Linked DNA regions of Homo sapiens: region 2 is linked to region 1. Evidence: promoter capture Hi-C in human tissues and cell types (Jung and others, 2019). All regions are on one chromosome and are shown on one strand. The core of a region is centred on a gene start or on the middle of the fragment in contact, and the rest is flanking DNA. Distances in the headings are between cores, read along the strand shown.

Evidence for each region. The method cuts DNA at HindIII sites, captures the fragments that hold promoters and counts their contacts. A contact is called where the count stands out against the background at its distance.
Region 2: a contact is called between a fragment that was not itself captured here and the fragment with the promoter of WDFY1 in region 1, in 1 of the 25 tissues and cell types used here (dorsolateral prefrontal cortex).

What each region holds. Positions count from the first base shown.
Region 1 is chr2:223,941,843-223,947,811 of GRCh38, forward strand. WDFY1 (WD repeat and FYVE domain containing 1) reads right to left here and starts at 3,493. Exons shown (of 12, transcript NM_020830.5): 1 at 3,306-3,493. The coding sequence starts at 3,442. It overlaps LOC124907989 (a long non-coding RNA gene), which reads left to right and starts at 1,382. Exons shown (of 2, transcript XR_007088100.1): 1 at 1,382-2,565. RefSeq lists enhancers at 2,305-2,424, 2,435-2,494 and a silencer at 3,065-3,244. The HindIII fragment of the contact is 3,551 bases long and covers 842-4,392 here.
Region 2 is chr2:224,832,944-224,838,912 of GRCh38, forward strand. DOCK10 (dedicator of cytokinesis 10) reads right to left here. Exons shown (of 56, transcript NM_014689.3): 25 at 4,819-4,888; 26 at 1,207-1,320. Among named protein-coding and RNA genes, the nearest start is that of CCDC195, 120 kb to the left of the region's middle. The HindIII fragment of the contact is 5,250 bases long and covers 1-5,233 here.

The DNA of each region.
Region 1 (5,969 bases), core at 2,243-4,742:
TGAAAACAAACCACCATGGCTAACACCAAGAAAAAACCCACGCCCATGTGCTTTCATTACATCTCATGAAGTGTAGCACCTACTAAAAAGGTTGTTCTCCCTTCAAGGAAGTTGCAAGAGCCTGAACACAACAGAAACCTCAAACGCCAACCCCATCCTGGTCCAGTCATCTACCTGGGCTCTGCAATAACAGTGGTGCACGAGTGAAAAAGTGAGCAGATGCAAGCTCCCCCAGAACGTTTCAGTCCCAGAGCAGCTTAGTAATCACTTTCCAAAAACATTTATCAGCACTGCTCCTGACCAGCAATCTCAAATATTTAGCAACTTACCCAAAACGCATGATTCATGAATAAAATATTTGACCGAATAAAGGCTGCTAACTTTTTTTTTTTTTTGATACGGAGTCTGGCTCTATCGCCCAGGCTGGAGTGCAGTGGCACAATCTTGGCTCACTGCAAGCTCTGCCTCCCAGGTTCACGCCATTCTCCTGCCTCAGCTTCCCGAGTAGCTGGGACTACAGGCGCCTGCCACCACACCTGGCTAATTTTTGAATTTTTAGTAGAGACTGGGTTTCGCCGTGTTAGCCAGGATGGTCTCGACCTCCTGACCTTGTTATCCACCCGCCTCGGCCTCCCAAAGTGCTGGGATTACAGGCATGAGCCACTGCGCCTGGCCAAAGGCTAACTTTTTTTTTTTTTTTTTTTGAGACGGAGTCTCGCTCTGTCGCCCAGGCCGGACTGCGGACTGCAGTGGCGCAATCTCGGCTCACTGCAAGCTCCGCTTCCCGGGTTCACGCCATTCTCCTGCCTCAGCCTCCCCAGTAGCTGGGACTACAGGCGCCCGCCACCGCGCCCGGCTAATTTTTTGTATTTTTAGTAGAGACGGGGTTTCACCTTGTTAGCCAGGATGGTCTCGATCTCCTGACCTCATGATCCACCCGCCTCGGCCTCCCAAAGTGCTGGGATTACAGGCGTGAGCCACCGCGCCCGGCCCAAAGGCTAACTTTTAAAGAGTGTTGTCTGCATCTACGTTCACATCATGCAAGAGTCATTATTCTGGCCGGACACCAGTGGATCATGCTTGTAATCCCAACACTTCGGGAGGCCAAGGCGGGTGGATCACGAGGTCAGGAGATCGAGACCATCCTGACCAACATGGTGAAACCCTGTCTCTACTAAAAATAGAAAAATTAGCTGGGCGTGGTGGCAGGCGCCTATAGTCCCAGCTACTCAGGAGGTTGAGGCAGGAGAATCGCTTGAACCTGGGAGGCGGAGGTTGCAGTGAGCCAAGATGATGCCACTGCACTCCATCCAGCCTGGGTGACAGAGCAAGCCTCCATCTTAAAAAAAAAAAAAAAAAGTCATTATTCTGTCCTTGCCTTTTTCAGGTCCCCACCTTCTCCCCAGGTCTCATGCACTCGATCTCTCTCACTCCTTTCTGCTTTACAGACCCACAGCCAGGTCCTGCCAATCACTCCCCTCCTTGTTGGAAGTCAGCTACAGGTGAACCAGCAGGGAGAGGCCACTGCCTGCTCACAATCAGCTCATTATCTAATTGAGGAAAAAGGCACAAGCTCACTCAAAAGCAAAATCCAAAGGACCAACAGGAGTTGGGGGCTTCAGGCTTTTTCTTCCCATTCAGGATAGGGTCAATGTCACTTCAAAAGGTATAATTACAAAAGGCTAGAGACCACGCCTTCAGCTTTAAGAGAATAGCAGTACCTTCCATCCTCCAGAAAGCTTTTGGACTTGTGGACTATCCCTATTTAAGACGGCTCATTGCATCAAGGAAACACAGTTTCATTCAATAAACATCAGTCATTTCCTTCAAATTCCCACCGGAAAGCTACTGACATTGTAAACCTTTAGGATTTGAAAGACGCTAAAGTTTAAAGTCGAATCATAAATACTGTTCCAATCCAATCACTCAGGCCCAGAGCTGGTGGGAGTTCTGGATTGCATTTCCGGCTTCACCAGTATCTCTGTAACTTAGCAGCAAGCTACACCTCCACCAGCCTCGGCTTCCTCTTAGGAGAAATGAGAAAACTGGACCCAATCAGTGTTTCCCAAAAGCATGGTGGGCGTCCAATGCAAGATGTCACAGTGCAAGAGAGGACTCTGTGTGCATGCCAATTAACATGTTTTAGTTATTAGTTTACTCTGTCTGGTGAGTAATGTTAGTTTTCCTAATAAATAAGATTTCCTTTTAAAATAAATGCATCCAAATATTTTTAAAAATGAGTCACTTTCACAAAAACCTATTTAGTAAATAAGAGTTCAGGTGATTCTAGCAGCCGTGGCAAAAATAACTGATCTAGAGGCCTGGCGTGGCGTGAAATCCCTGAGTACAGGGGGAGGAAGAGAGCGAAGGCGGCTGGAGTTCCTCGCAAAGAAGCAAGCCCCGGGCACCAGGGTCCGCAGTGACCAGCCGCCGGTCCTCCACGCTTCCAGAGGAGACGATTTGGAACTGACCCGGGAGGGCCAAGAAACACCTTCCGAGTACCAGGCTAAACCCCGCCAGGGAGAGAGACCGGGACGAAGGTCCCAGGCTAGTGCGACACCGCAGGTCGGGGTTCCCTGGTTGGAGGAGCGCGGTGGGCTGGGAGGGGCGCGTTGGTGCGCACTGGAACAGGGGTCCCCGGCTTGAGCAGCGCGGTGAGACAGAGTTCCCGCGCTGGAGGGGCGCGGTGAGACAGAGGTCCTGGGCTGGAGAGGTGCGTTGGGGCGCACTGGAACCGGGGTCCCGGGCTTGAGTGGCGCGGTGGGACAGAGTTCCCGGGCTGGAGGGGCGCAGTGGGACAGAAGATCCGGGCTAGAGGGGCGCGGTGGGACGGAGCTCCCGGGATGGACGGGCGCAGTGGGACAAGGGTCCCGGACTGGAGGGGCGCGTTGGGGAGCATTGGAACAGGGGTCCTGAGCAGGAGGGGCGAGGTGGGCTGGGAGGGGCGCGGTAGGGCGCACTGGAACAGGGGTCCTGGGCTGGAAAGACACGTTGGAACAAGGGTCCCGGGCTTGGGCGGCGCGGTGAGACGGAGTTCCCGGGCTGGAGGGGCGCGGTGGGACAGGGGATCCGGGCTGGAGGGGCGCGGCGAGACCGGGGTCCCAGGCTGGAAAGGTGCAAGTCGAGGCTGGAGGACCGGCGGGAGGGAACCGGGAACCCGGCGGAGCTAAGGGGCGCAGAGTGGGGGTGGGGCCGTGCTGCCGGGGGAGCCCCCTCACGCAGGAAGGACCGGGGCCGCGGACCCCACCGCCCCCACACCCCGTCGTCGCGGAGTTCGGGCCGCCCCGGCTGCGCCCGGGCCCTACCTGTCCTCGCTGGCCGTGATCACGCCGTCCTCCTTGGGGATGAGCAGCGCGGCCGTGACGGCGTCCTGGTGCCCCTCGATCTTGCTCAGCAGCACCGGGCGGCTGCTCTGCGGCCTGGAGTGGATTTCGGCCGCCATGTTCGCGCGGCGACTGCTGCGGCCTCCTCGGCAGGCAGCCCATCAGCTGACGCCTGGGCGGGCGGGGGACGCGCCGGTTTCCCTTCGGCTGCTGGGGCCTCTTGGGCGCCGCGCCGCCGTAAGCCCCCGAGTGCTGCCGCCGCACCGCCCGTATTGCCTGGGGATGCCGCGCAAGCTGAAAGTCTGTGGCTGGGAGAGGATGCCACGGGGCGCCTGCGGAGAAATGGGGAAAGTAAGGAAGGTTTAAAAGTAAAGCCATTCACCCAGGAATAAATTGAGCACCTGGAGGGGACAAGGAATTGTCCCCCAAACCAGAGATTTCAGAAATTACAATACTACATTTCATCCATTTGAAGAAGCCATTGTTTGAAAGGCACACACTTTCAGAAATGTTAAAATGTGAAAAAATATAGTGCATCTTAGAATCTTTGAACTACAATAGATAGCACTGAGTGGTGACCATATACCAGGCATTAACTCAGTGTCTTTGCATCTCATTTAATACTGATAATTTTAAGAGATGAAATAGATGCTCTTGTATTCCCATTTTAGAGATGAGAAAACAACCAGAGAAGTTTGATCACTACCTTAAGGTTGCACAGCTATGAGAGGGAGAAAAGCAGCCCTTGATCTCCAGGAGCTGCCTGGTACTATCAGCTGAGCTTTGGTGTTGCTAGGAAGTGTTTGCTTCCTGTGGAACATAAACATCAGACGAGGCCACTCCATAATCACATCTAAACACGGCCAAAATATGAGCGATGTACAAGCCACAGAAATTACCAAACATCCCCCTATCCTGGCTAATATGAGTGACTCTTATTTCTTTATTAATTATAATGTTAACCGCTATCTAGTCTTCCTCCATTTAGATAAGATTTATTAAGATATGCAACCTTAGAATTATACGCATTTCCTGACAACATCCAGTCCACAGGAGAGCCTCTCTTCCTTAAGCTCTCCCAGGTCACCTAACACAAACACAAATCCTATAATAAAACTGTCCGAACATCCCTTTACCCAGACACCTCACCATTCCCAATGGTGTGTCTTCTCCCTCCAACAAGCAATCAACCCCATTTGTTCCTGGTGGTTTTTGGCTAGAGGTCATTGACAACCAGTAAGTTCAAGAGCCAAAATTTGGACTCAGGAAGTCAATGACTCCAAACTTCTGCCCCACTATATTATTCTGACACCTGAATTGCAGAATTGCATTAGAACCGTACTATCCACATGACTATAGAGCACTTGAAATGTGGCTTGTCCAAACTGAGATGTAGTACAAGTGCAAAATACTACAAGATTTTATAGACTTAGCACAAAACAAAAAAGATGTAATATAGTTCATCAATAATTGTTACAATGATTACATGTTGAAATGATACTATTTTGGATATATTGAGTTAGATACTATTAAAATTAATATGACCTGCTTATTTTTTTAAGGTAGCTAATAAAAACTTTAAATTATGGATGTGAATCAGATGGTACTTCTATGTACAGTGATTTACTAGAACTTTCTTTTTGTTTTTGTTTTGTTTTGTTTTAGTTTTTTGAGACGAACTCACTCCGTCACCCAGGCTGGAGTGCAGTGGTGCGATCTCGGTTTACGGCAACCTCCGCCTCCCAGGTTAAAGGGATTCACCTGTCTCAGCTTCCCGAGTAGCTGGGATTACAAGCACCTACCACCATGCCTGGCTAATTTTGTATTTTTACTAGAGACAGGGTTTCACCATGTTGACCAGGCTGGTCTCAAACTTCTGCCCTCAAATCATCTGCCCACCTCAGCCTCCCAAAATGCTGGGATTACGGGCAGGAGCCACCATTGTACTAATACTTTCTCATGATGAAGTTATTAACAAACATTCATGAATTTATTTATTCCTATATTCAACAGACATATATCGCACACTTACTATATGCTGTTGCTGATGAGATTAATAAGACATGGTTTTTGTGAGGCTGTACAGTGTAATGACTAGACACGCTACTGAACAACTTTGTTTAATCAACCAACATCTCCCAAGTGCCTGCTGTGAGCCAGGTGCCATTCTAAATGCAGCAGTGCTCAAGAGAGACAAAAATCCCTCTGCTGTTAGAACTTACATCCCAGTGAAGGAAACAGATAGTAAACTAAATTATATAATATATTAGAAGATGTTCAATGCTATTAAATGCTATGGAGAAAATAAAGCAGGGAAGGGTGATAGGGACTCTAGGGGATGTTGCGATTTTAAATAGATGGTGTGATAGATTCAGGAATACACTGCACAGATCTGCTTTCAGGGAAGAACAGTGGTCAGCAGAGAGCCTCTAGCCTTCAGCTCCTTCAGGGACTGCCCCAGCTGCTGAGAACCACTGGGTCTCAGTTGTTCCCTTCACAGGGAAGCCCACATTCAGTAACTGAACAAGATAGGAGGATAAAGGCCTGACCATCAAGACAGACCGATGAGCAACACTTGCTCTAGAACTCTCTCCTAGATTGGACAAGGCTTTGTAAGGCGTGTACTGCAGCTGACTTCTCCTGCCT
Region 2 (5,969 bases), core at 1,359-3,858, 890 kb after region 1:
CAATCTCCTGAAACCCACCCACCCCACCTTCCAGAGCACATGGTCCATCGTTAGCACAATCTCTTGAAGATGCAATTCTTCTCCGAGCATTCCCTTCACTCCATATTTTAACTGAGCAGTGACTCTCCCCAGAGGATCCTGCTTCTCTGATAGCCCCTCAAGTGGTTGTGGTCTCCATTTTTATCCCACTGTAGTCGATTCTCAACACAGCAATCAGAGGGATCCTTTTAAACCAAGGTCAGCTTGGTTTAAAACATTACTCCTCTGTGCAAAACCCTCCAACGACACAACTCCCAGTTCTGCTCTGAGTGGGAACGCCTGGCCTATGCTAACTCCCAAGCCTCCAGTGGCTTCCATGACTTCATCGTCCATCTTTTTTTTTTCTTTCTGCTCACTTGGCTCCAGCCACAGTGTCCTCCCTGTCTCCTGCCACAGTGTCCTCCCTGTCTCCTGCAGACACACCAGCCATGCTGCTGCCTGATGACTTCACACAGGTCTTTCCCTCTGAGCATCCCCATGGCCAGCACCCTCTTCGCCTTCAAATTTTTTTTTTTTTTGCTCAAGAATTACCTCCTCCATCAGATATCCTGACCATTCTATTTAAAACTTCAAATCTCCCCTGCACCTTCAGCACTCACAATGCCCAATTCTTACCTGTTCTACAATTTTTCTAATGCATCTTCTTTTCTAACATACAATATCTATCTATGTATCTCTCTCTCTCTCTCTCTCTGGTCTTGTTGCCCAGGCTGGAGTGCAATGGCATGATCTCGGCTCACTGCAACCTCTGCCTCCCGGGTTCAAGCGATTCCCCTGCCTCTGCCTCCTGAGTAGCTGGGATTACAGGCATCTGTCACCACTCCTGGCTAATTTTGTTTTTGTATTTTTAGTAGAGATGGGGTTTCACCATGTTGGCCAGGCTGGTCTTGAACTCCTGACTTCAGGTGATCTGCCCATCTCAGCCTCCTAAAATGCTGGGATTACAGAGGTGAGCCACTGCACCTGGCCCACTCTACTTTTTTCTATGTTGTCTCGATATAGATCTCTTTTGCTTAGTATCTTTATATGCTAAGTTTCAATATGAACCTTATGCTGGAAACTGCAAGAGAAAAAGTCTATGAAAATCCATGACTCCTATCATTTTCCAGGAGTAAGCGTGACCCATGCCTAGTACTCACAGTTAAAGGACCATCTTTAAATTCTTACCTTTAGGACATGCTTTACTGTTGTTGAGTCATTTGATTTCAAAAGACCAGTCACATTTTTAGCCAGTTCCTCATGTACAGTCCTCTCCTTGCATGCCCTGGTCTTGAACACGAACTGAAGAAAATCCAAAAAGTGAATAAAGTTAAATACTTTGAAAAATGAAGCTTCAAAAACTATGTCATGTGAATAACTTATGTCTCTAAATTATCTGCTCATGCCAGATTTTGCCATGAGATAAATGCAGGCCCAATGATAAGAGCAGTACACACCTGTTCCTATTTAGGGCTTTGCAGAAGTAGGGCCTTGCTCACCTAAGCTCTCCTTGAAACTCTTTGTAGAAATCAAGAGAAAGAGCCAGAGAGCCATTTAGCACGTTCAAGGAAACATGGAGGGCTTTGACCCACCTACTTAGGACACATTCCCCTTCTCCTTCCTCCACTGGTAACAGGTGGCATGGTAGCAATTCTTCATCCTGAAAGGGTAGAGCACCCACTCAAATAGCCAAGTGGGGAAGCCAGTGCCTTCCAGATGCCAGTACGTGAGCTCCCCACAAGCCCAGGGTCTATGATCCCATGCTTAGACACACTATCAAGGCGTTCATGAACATTGGCCATCAGTAAGATAACAAATGCTGCATACTTATTTTTTTTCCTCAAAAAATTGGTTTTGGCATGCACCACTGAGGGCACATAATGGCTAGTTTTCAGTATTTCTTCATCTCTTAAGAATATCAGTATCAATTTATGCACATACATAAAGTTCAAATATAAAATGCTTATTACTGAATTATAATATTTCACTTATGAATTGGGTTTGCCTCGTGGAAGGACATTTCTTCATAATTTTCACAATTCGGATTTCACCGTAATTGAGAGTGAAGGCAGGAAAGAGAAGGAATGGCTTAATGTAGAGGCACATTAGCTTTTGGATCTGTAACTGTTTCTTTAAACTTTGTAGCACATTGGCACCTAACTTGTCATGGTGGGATTTGACTTCTCCAAGCTCATCTCAAAGGAGAAAGATGAAGTTAATGGATGCATGAAACTAGATAAAATCAAGAGTAATACAATTTTTCCCTCTCATGGGTTATACCTCAGATGTGAGTAACGTCATCATCAATGAGCTCATGCCATGCACAGTTATTTAGCCTGAAGGGCATTTAAACTGGCACTGAAATATTCTTATTTTAAAATTTTGACTGTAACCCATCAGTGCTACAAATCACTGTTAACCATGGCATTTAATTAGACTGGCTTTAGACACGCATCTTTGAAAAAGACACGGTGTATGTGTGCATTTTGCATATTGTAGACGAAGTGAGTTAGCAGCATTTAGCACCACTGAACTTGAAATGGTGTTTAGATAACTTCTAAATAAATACAAATTGTATTGAATATCACATCTTTGGAGGACATTCAAGCACGCACTGTAACAAGAGTCCAATCACAGGATGATAGAACTGAATGTTCCTTTGGTCATTTCATCTCATGTCACAGGAGAAAACTGAGGTTCAGAGAGGCTGACTGCTTAAGTCTAGAATTGACTAGAATCTAGTCTCTTACTTGCCAGCTTAGTGTTCTTTCCCGAGTAAAATGCGAGTTGATTACATTTATTAGGAGGTATTTGTTTTAGATATGTTAAAATTTATTATAAAATTGTTATCAGCCTAAAATTCCACATAGGTGTATTTTTGGATTTGAATCACTTAAAGCAAGCTAAGTAGATAATCTCCTGTATTATAAAGTGAGATGGTCTTGTTGGGTATTTCAGATACCCTGGTTAAAAATAAAGGTCACGCCAGGATGCATTTCTAATGCATCTCTCCAGGAGCGTCACCGGTAGAAAGTCTGAGATTTGAGGTATTCACAAAGAGCTAGCCTTGGTAATCACAAAAATAGTCACAACACCGGAGGGTTCTTAATGTAATTTTCAATGATCCCACTGACATGAGGAAAATAATATGTGTTGAAATGGAGATGCCTGTGTGTAAGATGGATCAGTAACTTTTTTTCTCTTTCTCAGTCCCTTTAAGGATTGAAATGAAACATTCGGGTAATGAAGCATTGAGAGGGTGAAAGTTCTCCAGGTGATTCTGTTGAATGGTAAATTCATCGATACTCTATAAAACTAAGCTATGACCCTATCTTAGGGAGCAAACTAAAAAGGCTTGTGTAGGTGGAACTGGCTTTTTGCAGTTGAGATGTGGATCTTATTGGGTAAAATTATACAATAGAGAAATTATTGTGAAATAACTATTTTTGGCATATAGCCTATGTTTAAAAAGGGCACATACTCATGCTTTGGCATTTGGGAAGACAACTAACATTTCTGGCAGATAGAAAACATATGGATATAAAAACTGTAATGAAAAAAATTTCCTTACAGATGGTATCTCAGAGGGGTTCACTCCAGAATGCAATTTCTGGTTACTTCCTTTTATGGGAGTGTGGAATTTTTTTTTTTTTTTTGAGATGGAGTCTTGCTCTGTTGCCCAGGCTGGAGTGCAGTGGCACAATCTTGGCTCACTGCAAGCTCTGCCTCCCGGGTTCACGCCATTCTGCAGCCTCAGCCTCCCAAGTAGCTGGGACTACAGGCGCCCACCACCACGCCTGGCTAATTTTTTGTATTTTTAGTAGAGACAGGGTTTCACTGTGTTAGCCAGGATGGTCTCAATCTCCTGACCTCGTGATCCGCCCGCCTCGGCCTCCCAAAGTGCTTGGATTACAGGCGTGAGCCACCACGCTTGGCCGATTTTTTTTTTAACAAGTTTCTAGACATCTTGAATATATGAGTATCTGTCTGTGCATACATATTAAGAGAATACAGTTTTTTGATGAAAAAGCTATGTCTCAAAAAGATTTAATCTATGCATAGGAAAAAAAATAAGAGATTTAGGTCCTCTATGTATTATAAAGTAATTTAAGATACTCTTCTGTATTTCTGGATGGGTTCTTTCTTTTCATTCAAGAGGATGACATTTAGGTGGGAACTATGAAAGTGCAAACATCATCACAAGTTCACTGGCATTAATCCACAGGCCAACTGGAAATGAGAATAGAAGCGTCTCTGAGTGAACACTTGACGTAGGACACTGGAAGAAGCAGTGCACACTGATGGAATGGGCAAGTGGTTCATGCCAGAAGATAAAGGACTTAACATACCAGAAGCAGGTACAAATATACAGTAACTGGGAAAATGAAATAATGCCTGAGGAAACAATAGAAAGAGCTAAGAAAGCATTACAGAGGAAACACAGAGCATTCAACAAACCAACAGGAAAGTCTTCCTTAAATTAACACAGGAATCTCATGTACTTGTAATGTTGACTTCAAAAGGACAGCACTTTAGTTTTCTCCTCTATCTTTTTCTTTCCTCTCTCTCCCCATTTAATTATTTATGTGCACAGGTACACATTATTTATACATTTAAAAATTCACCTAGCCCATTAATGCAAAGAGATGGAATTCTAAGTAGCTAAGGCAAATTCCTGATATTACTGTGGTGGGCGCCACTCAGTTAAAGGGAGAAAACTTCCCACTTACTGCAGACAGGAAATGAGACAAGTCACACAGCACAAGGGGATATGAGCAATTTCCAAGAGGCATTTCATACCTTAATATATGACTGGACAGAATGATCCAGCTGCTCCTCATGGCACTTGGCCACAATGTCGGTCAGAACCCTGCAAAAGCAAAGCTGTTCAGTGGCCTTTCTGGAGAGGGCAGAAAAACCCCGCTTTAGTTTGTCATTACAGTGCTTTGTAAATTGGGTATTTAATAATTACTGGGTGAATGAATGAACCAATCTCTGACTCCTTCCTTGCCCTCCTCAGCCCCATATCCAATACTGGGCATTTAATATCTATAGCATCAATGAGCCATTTCCATCGATTAGCCATTTCCAACTTTGAAACTTTGAAACACAAAGATGTAAGTAGTGTTGTAATATCACAATGGAGACTTTTTGTCCAAGTTGAATGTGCTAATTATGGTCTGTGCGTTTTTGACATTATCTTTTTGCAAAAGGGATTATTTTTAGTGCCTAATTAAAATTTTAGACTTTTAATTTCAAATTAATAATCATATTTCATTTGAAGAGGGCTTGCCTTCCAACCTATAGGCACTATATATGCTTTTGGAAAAAGTAATTAGGTTAAGATGCAGTTGTTTTGTTTTGCTTTGTTTTTCCCTTAGCTGGGTTGGGGTTTCTAGCAGCAATGATGTACAGGTGGATCTTTTTTCACATTAACACTACCAGCTGCTCCATGGCTATAGTGCTTAGGAATATCTCAGAATTTCAACAGATCTATCAGCTGCAATATCTAGGAGTCTTGCCAACACAGAGACACATTCACATGCTGAAAAGAGCATGAGTTGAAGGCACAGCTGGGGACTTTTGATGCAGGTCCAGAACTGGATGGTTGTGAAGCCATTAGAGATATTTAAATTGTCCAGAATTTCAGGCTCTGCTTTAAAAACTAGGCTACAAACCCTCATTCAGAAAGAGGTCAGTAATATGCCTGTGAGTTAGAAAGATACTGGAAACATTTCAATGCCAAAAGTAACATTTTTTTCCAGAATGCTATGACTAAATTTTTTAAAAAAATGAACAGCACAAATATATAATTTAATAATTAATTCAAAGCACTATCTCTATAAAGAAGAAATTGTGATTTGTGAAGGCATTGGCCAGATTAGAGATGTTGGAAGAATTCAGTATAGCCAAATTTAAAGTGAGAACAGTTAAAGCATTTAATACTTAAA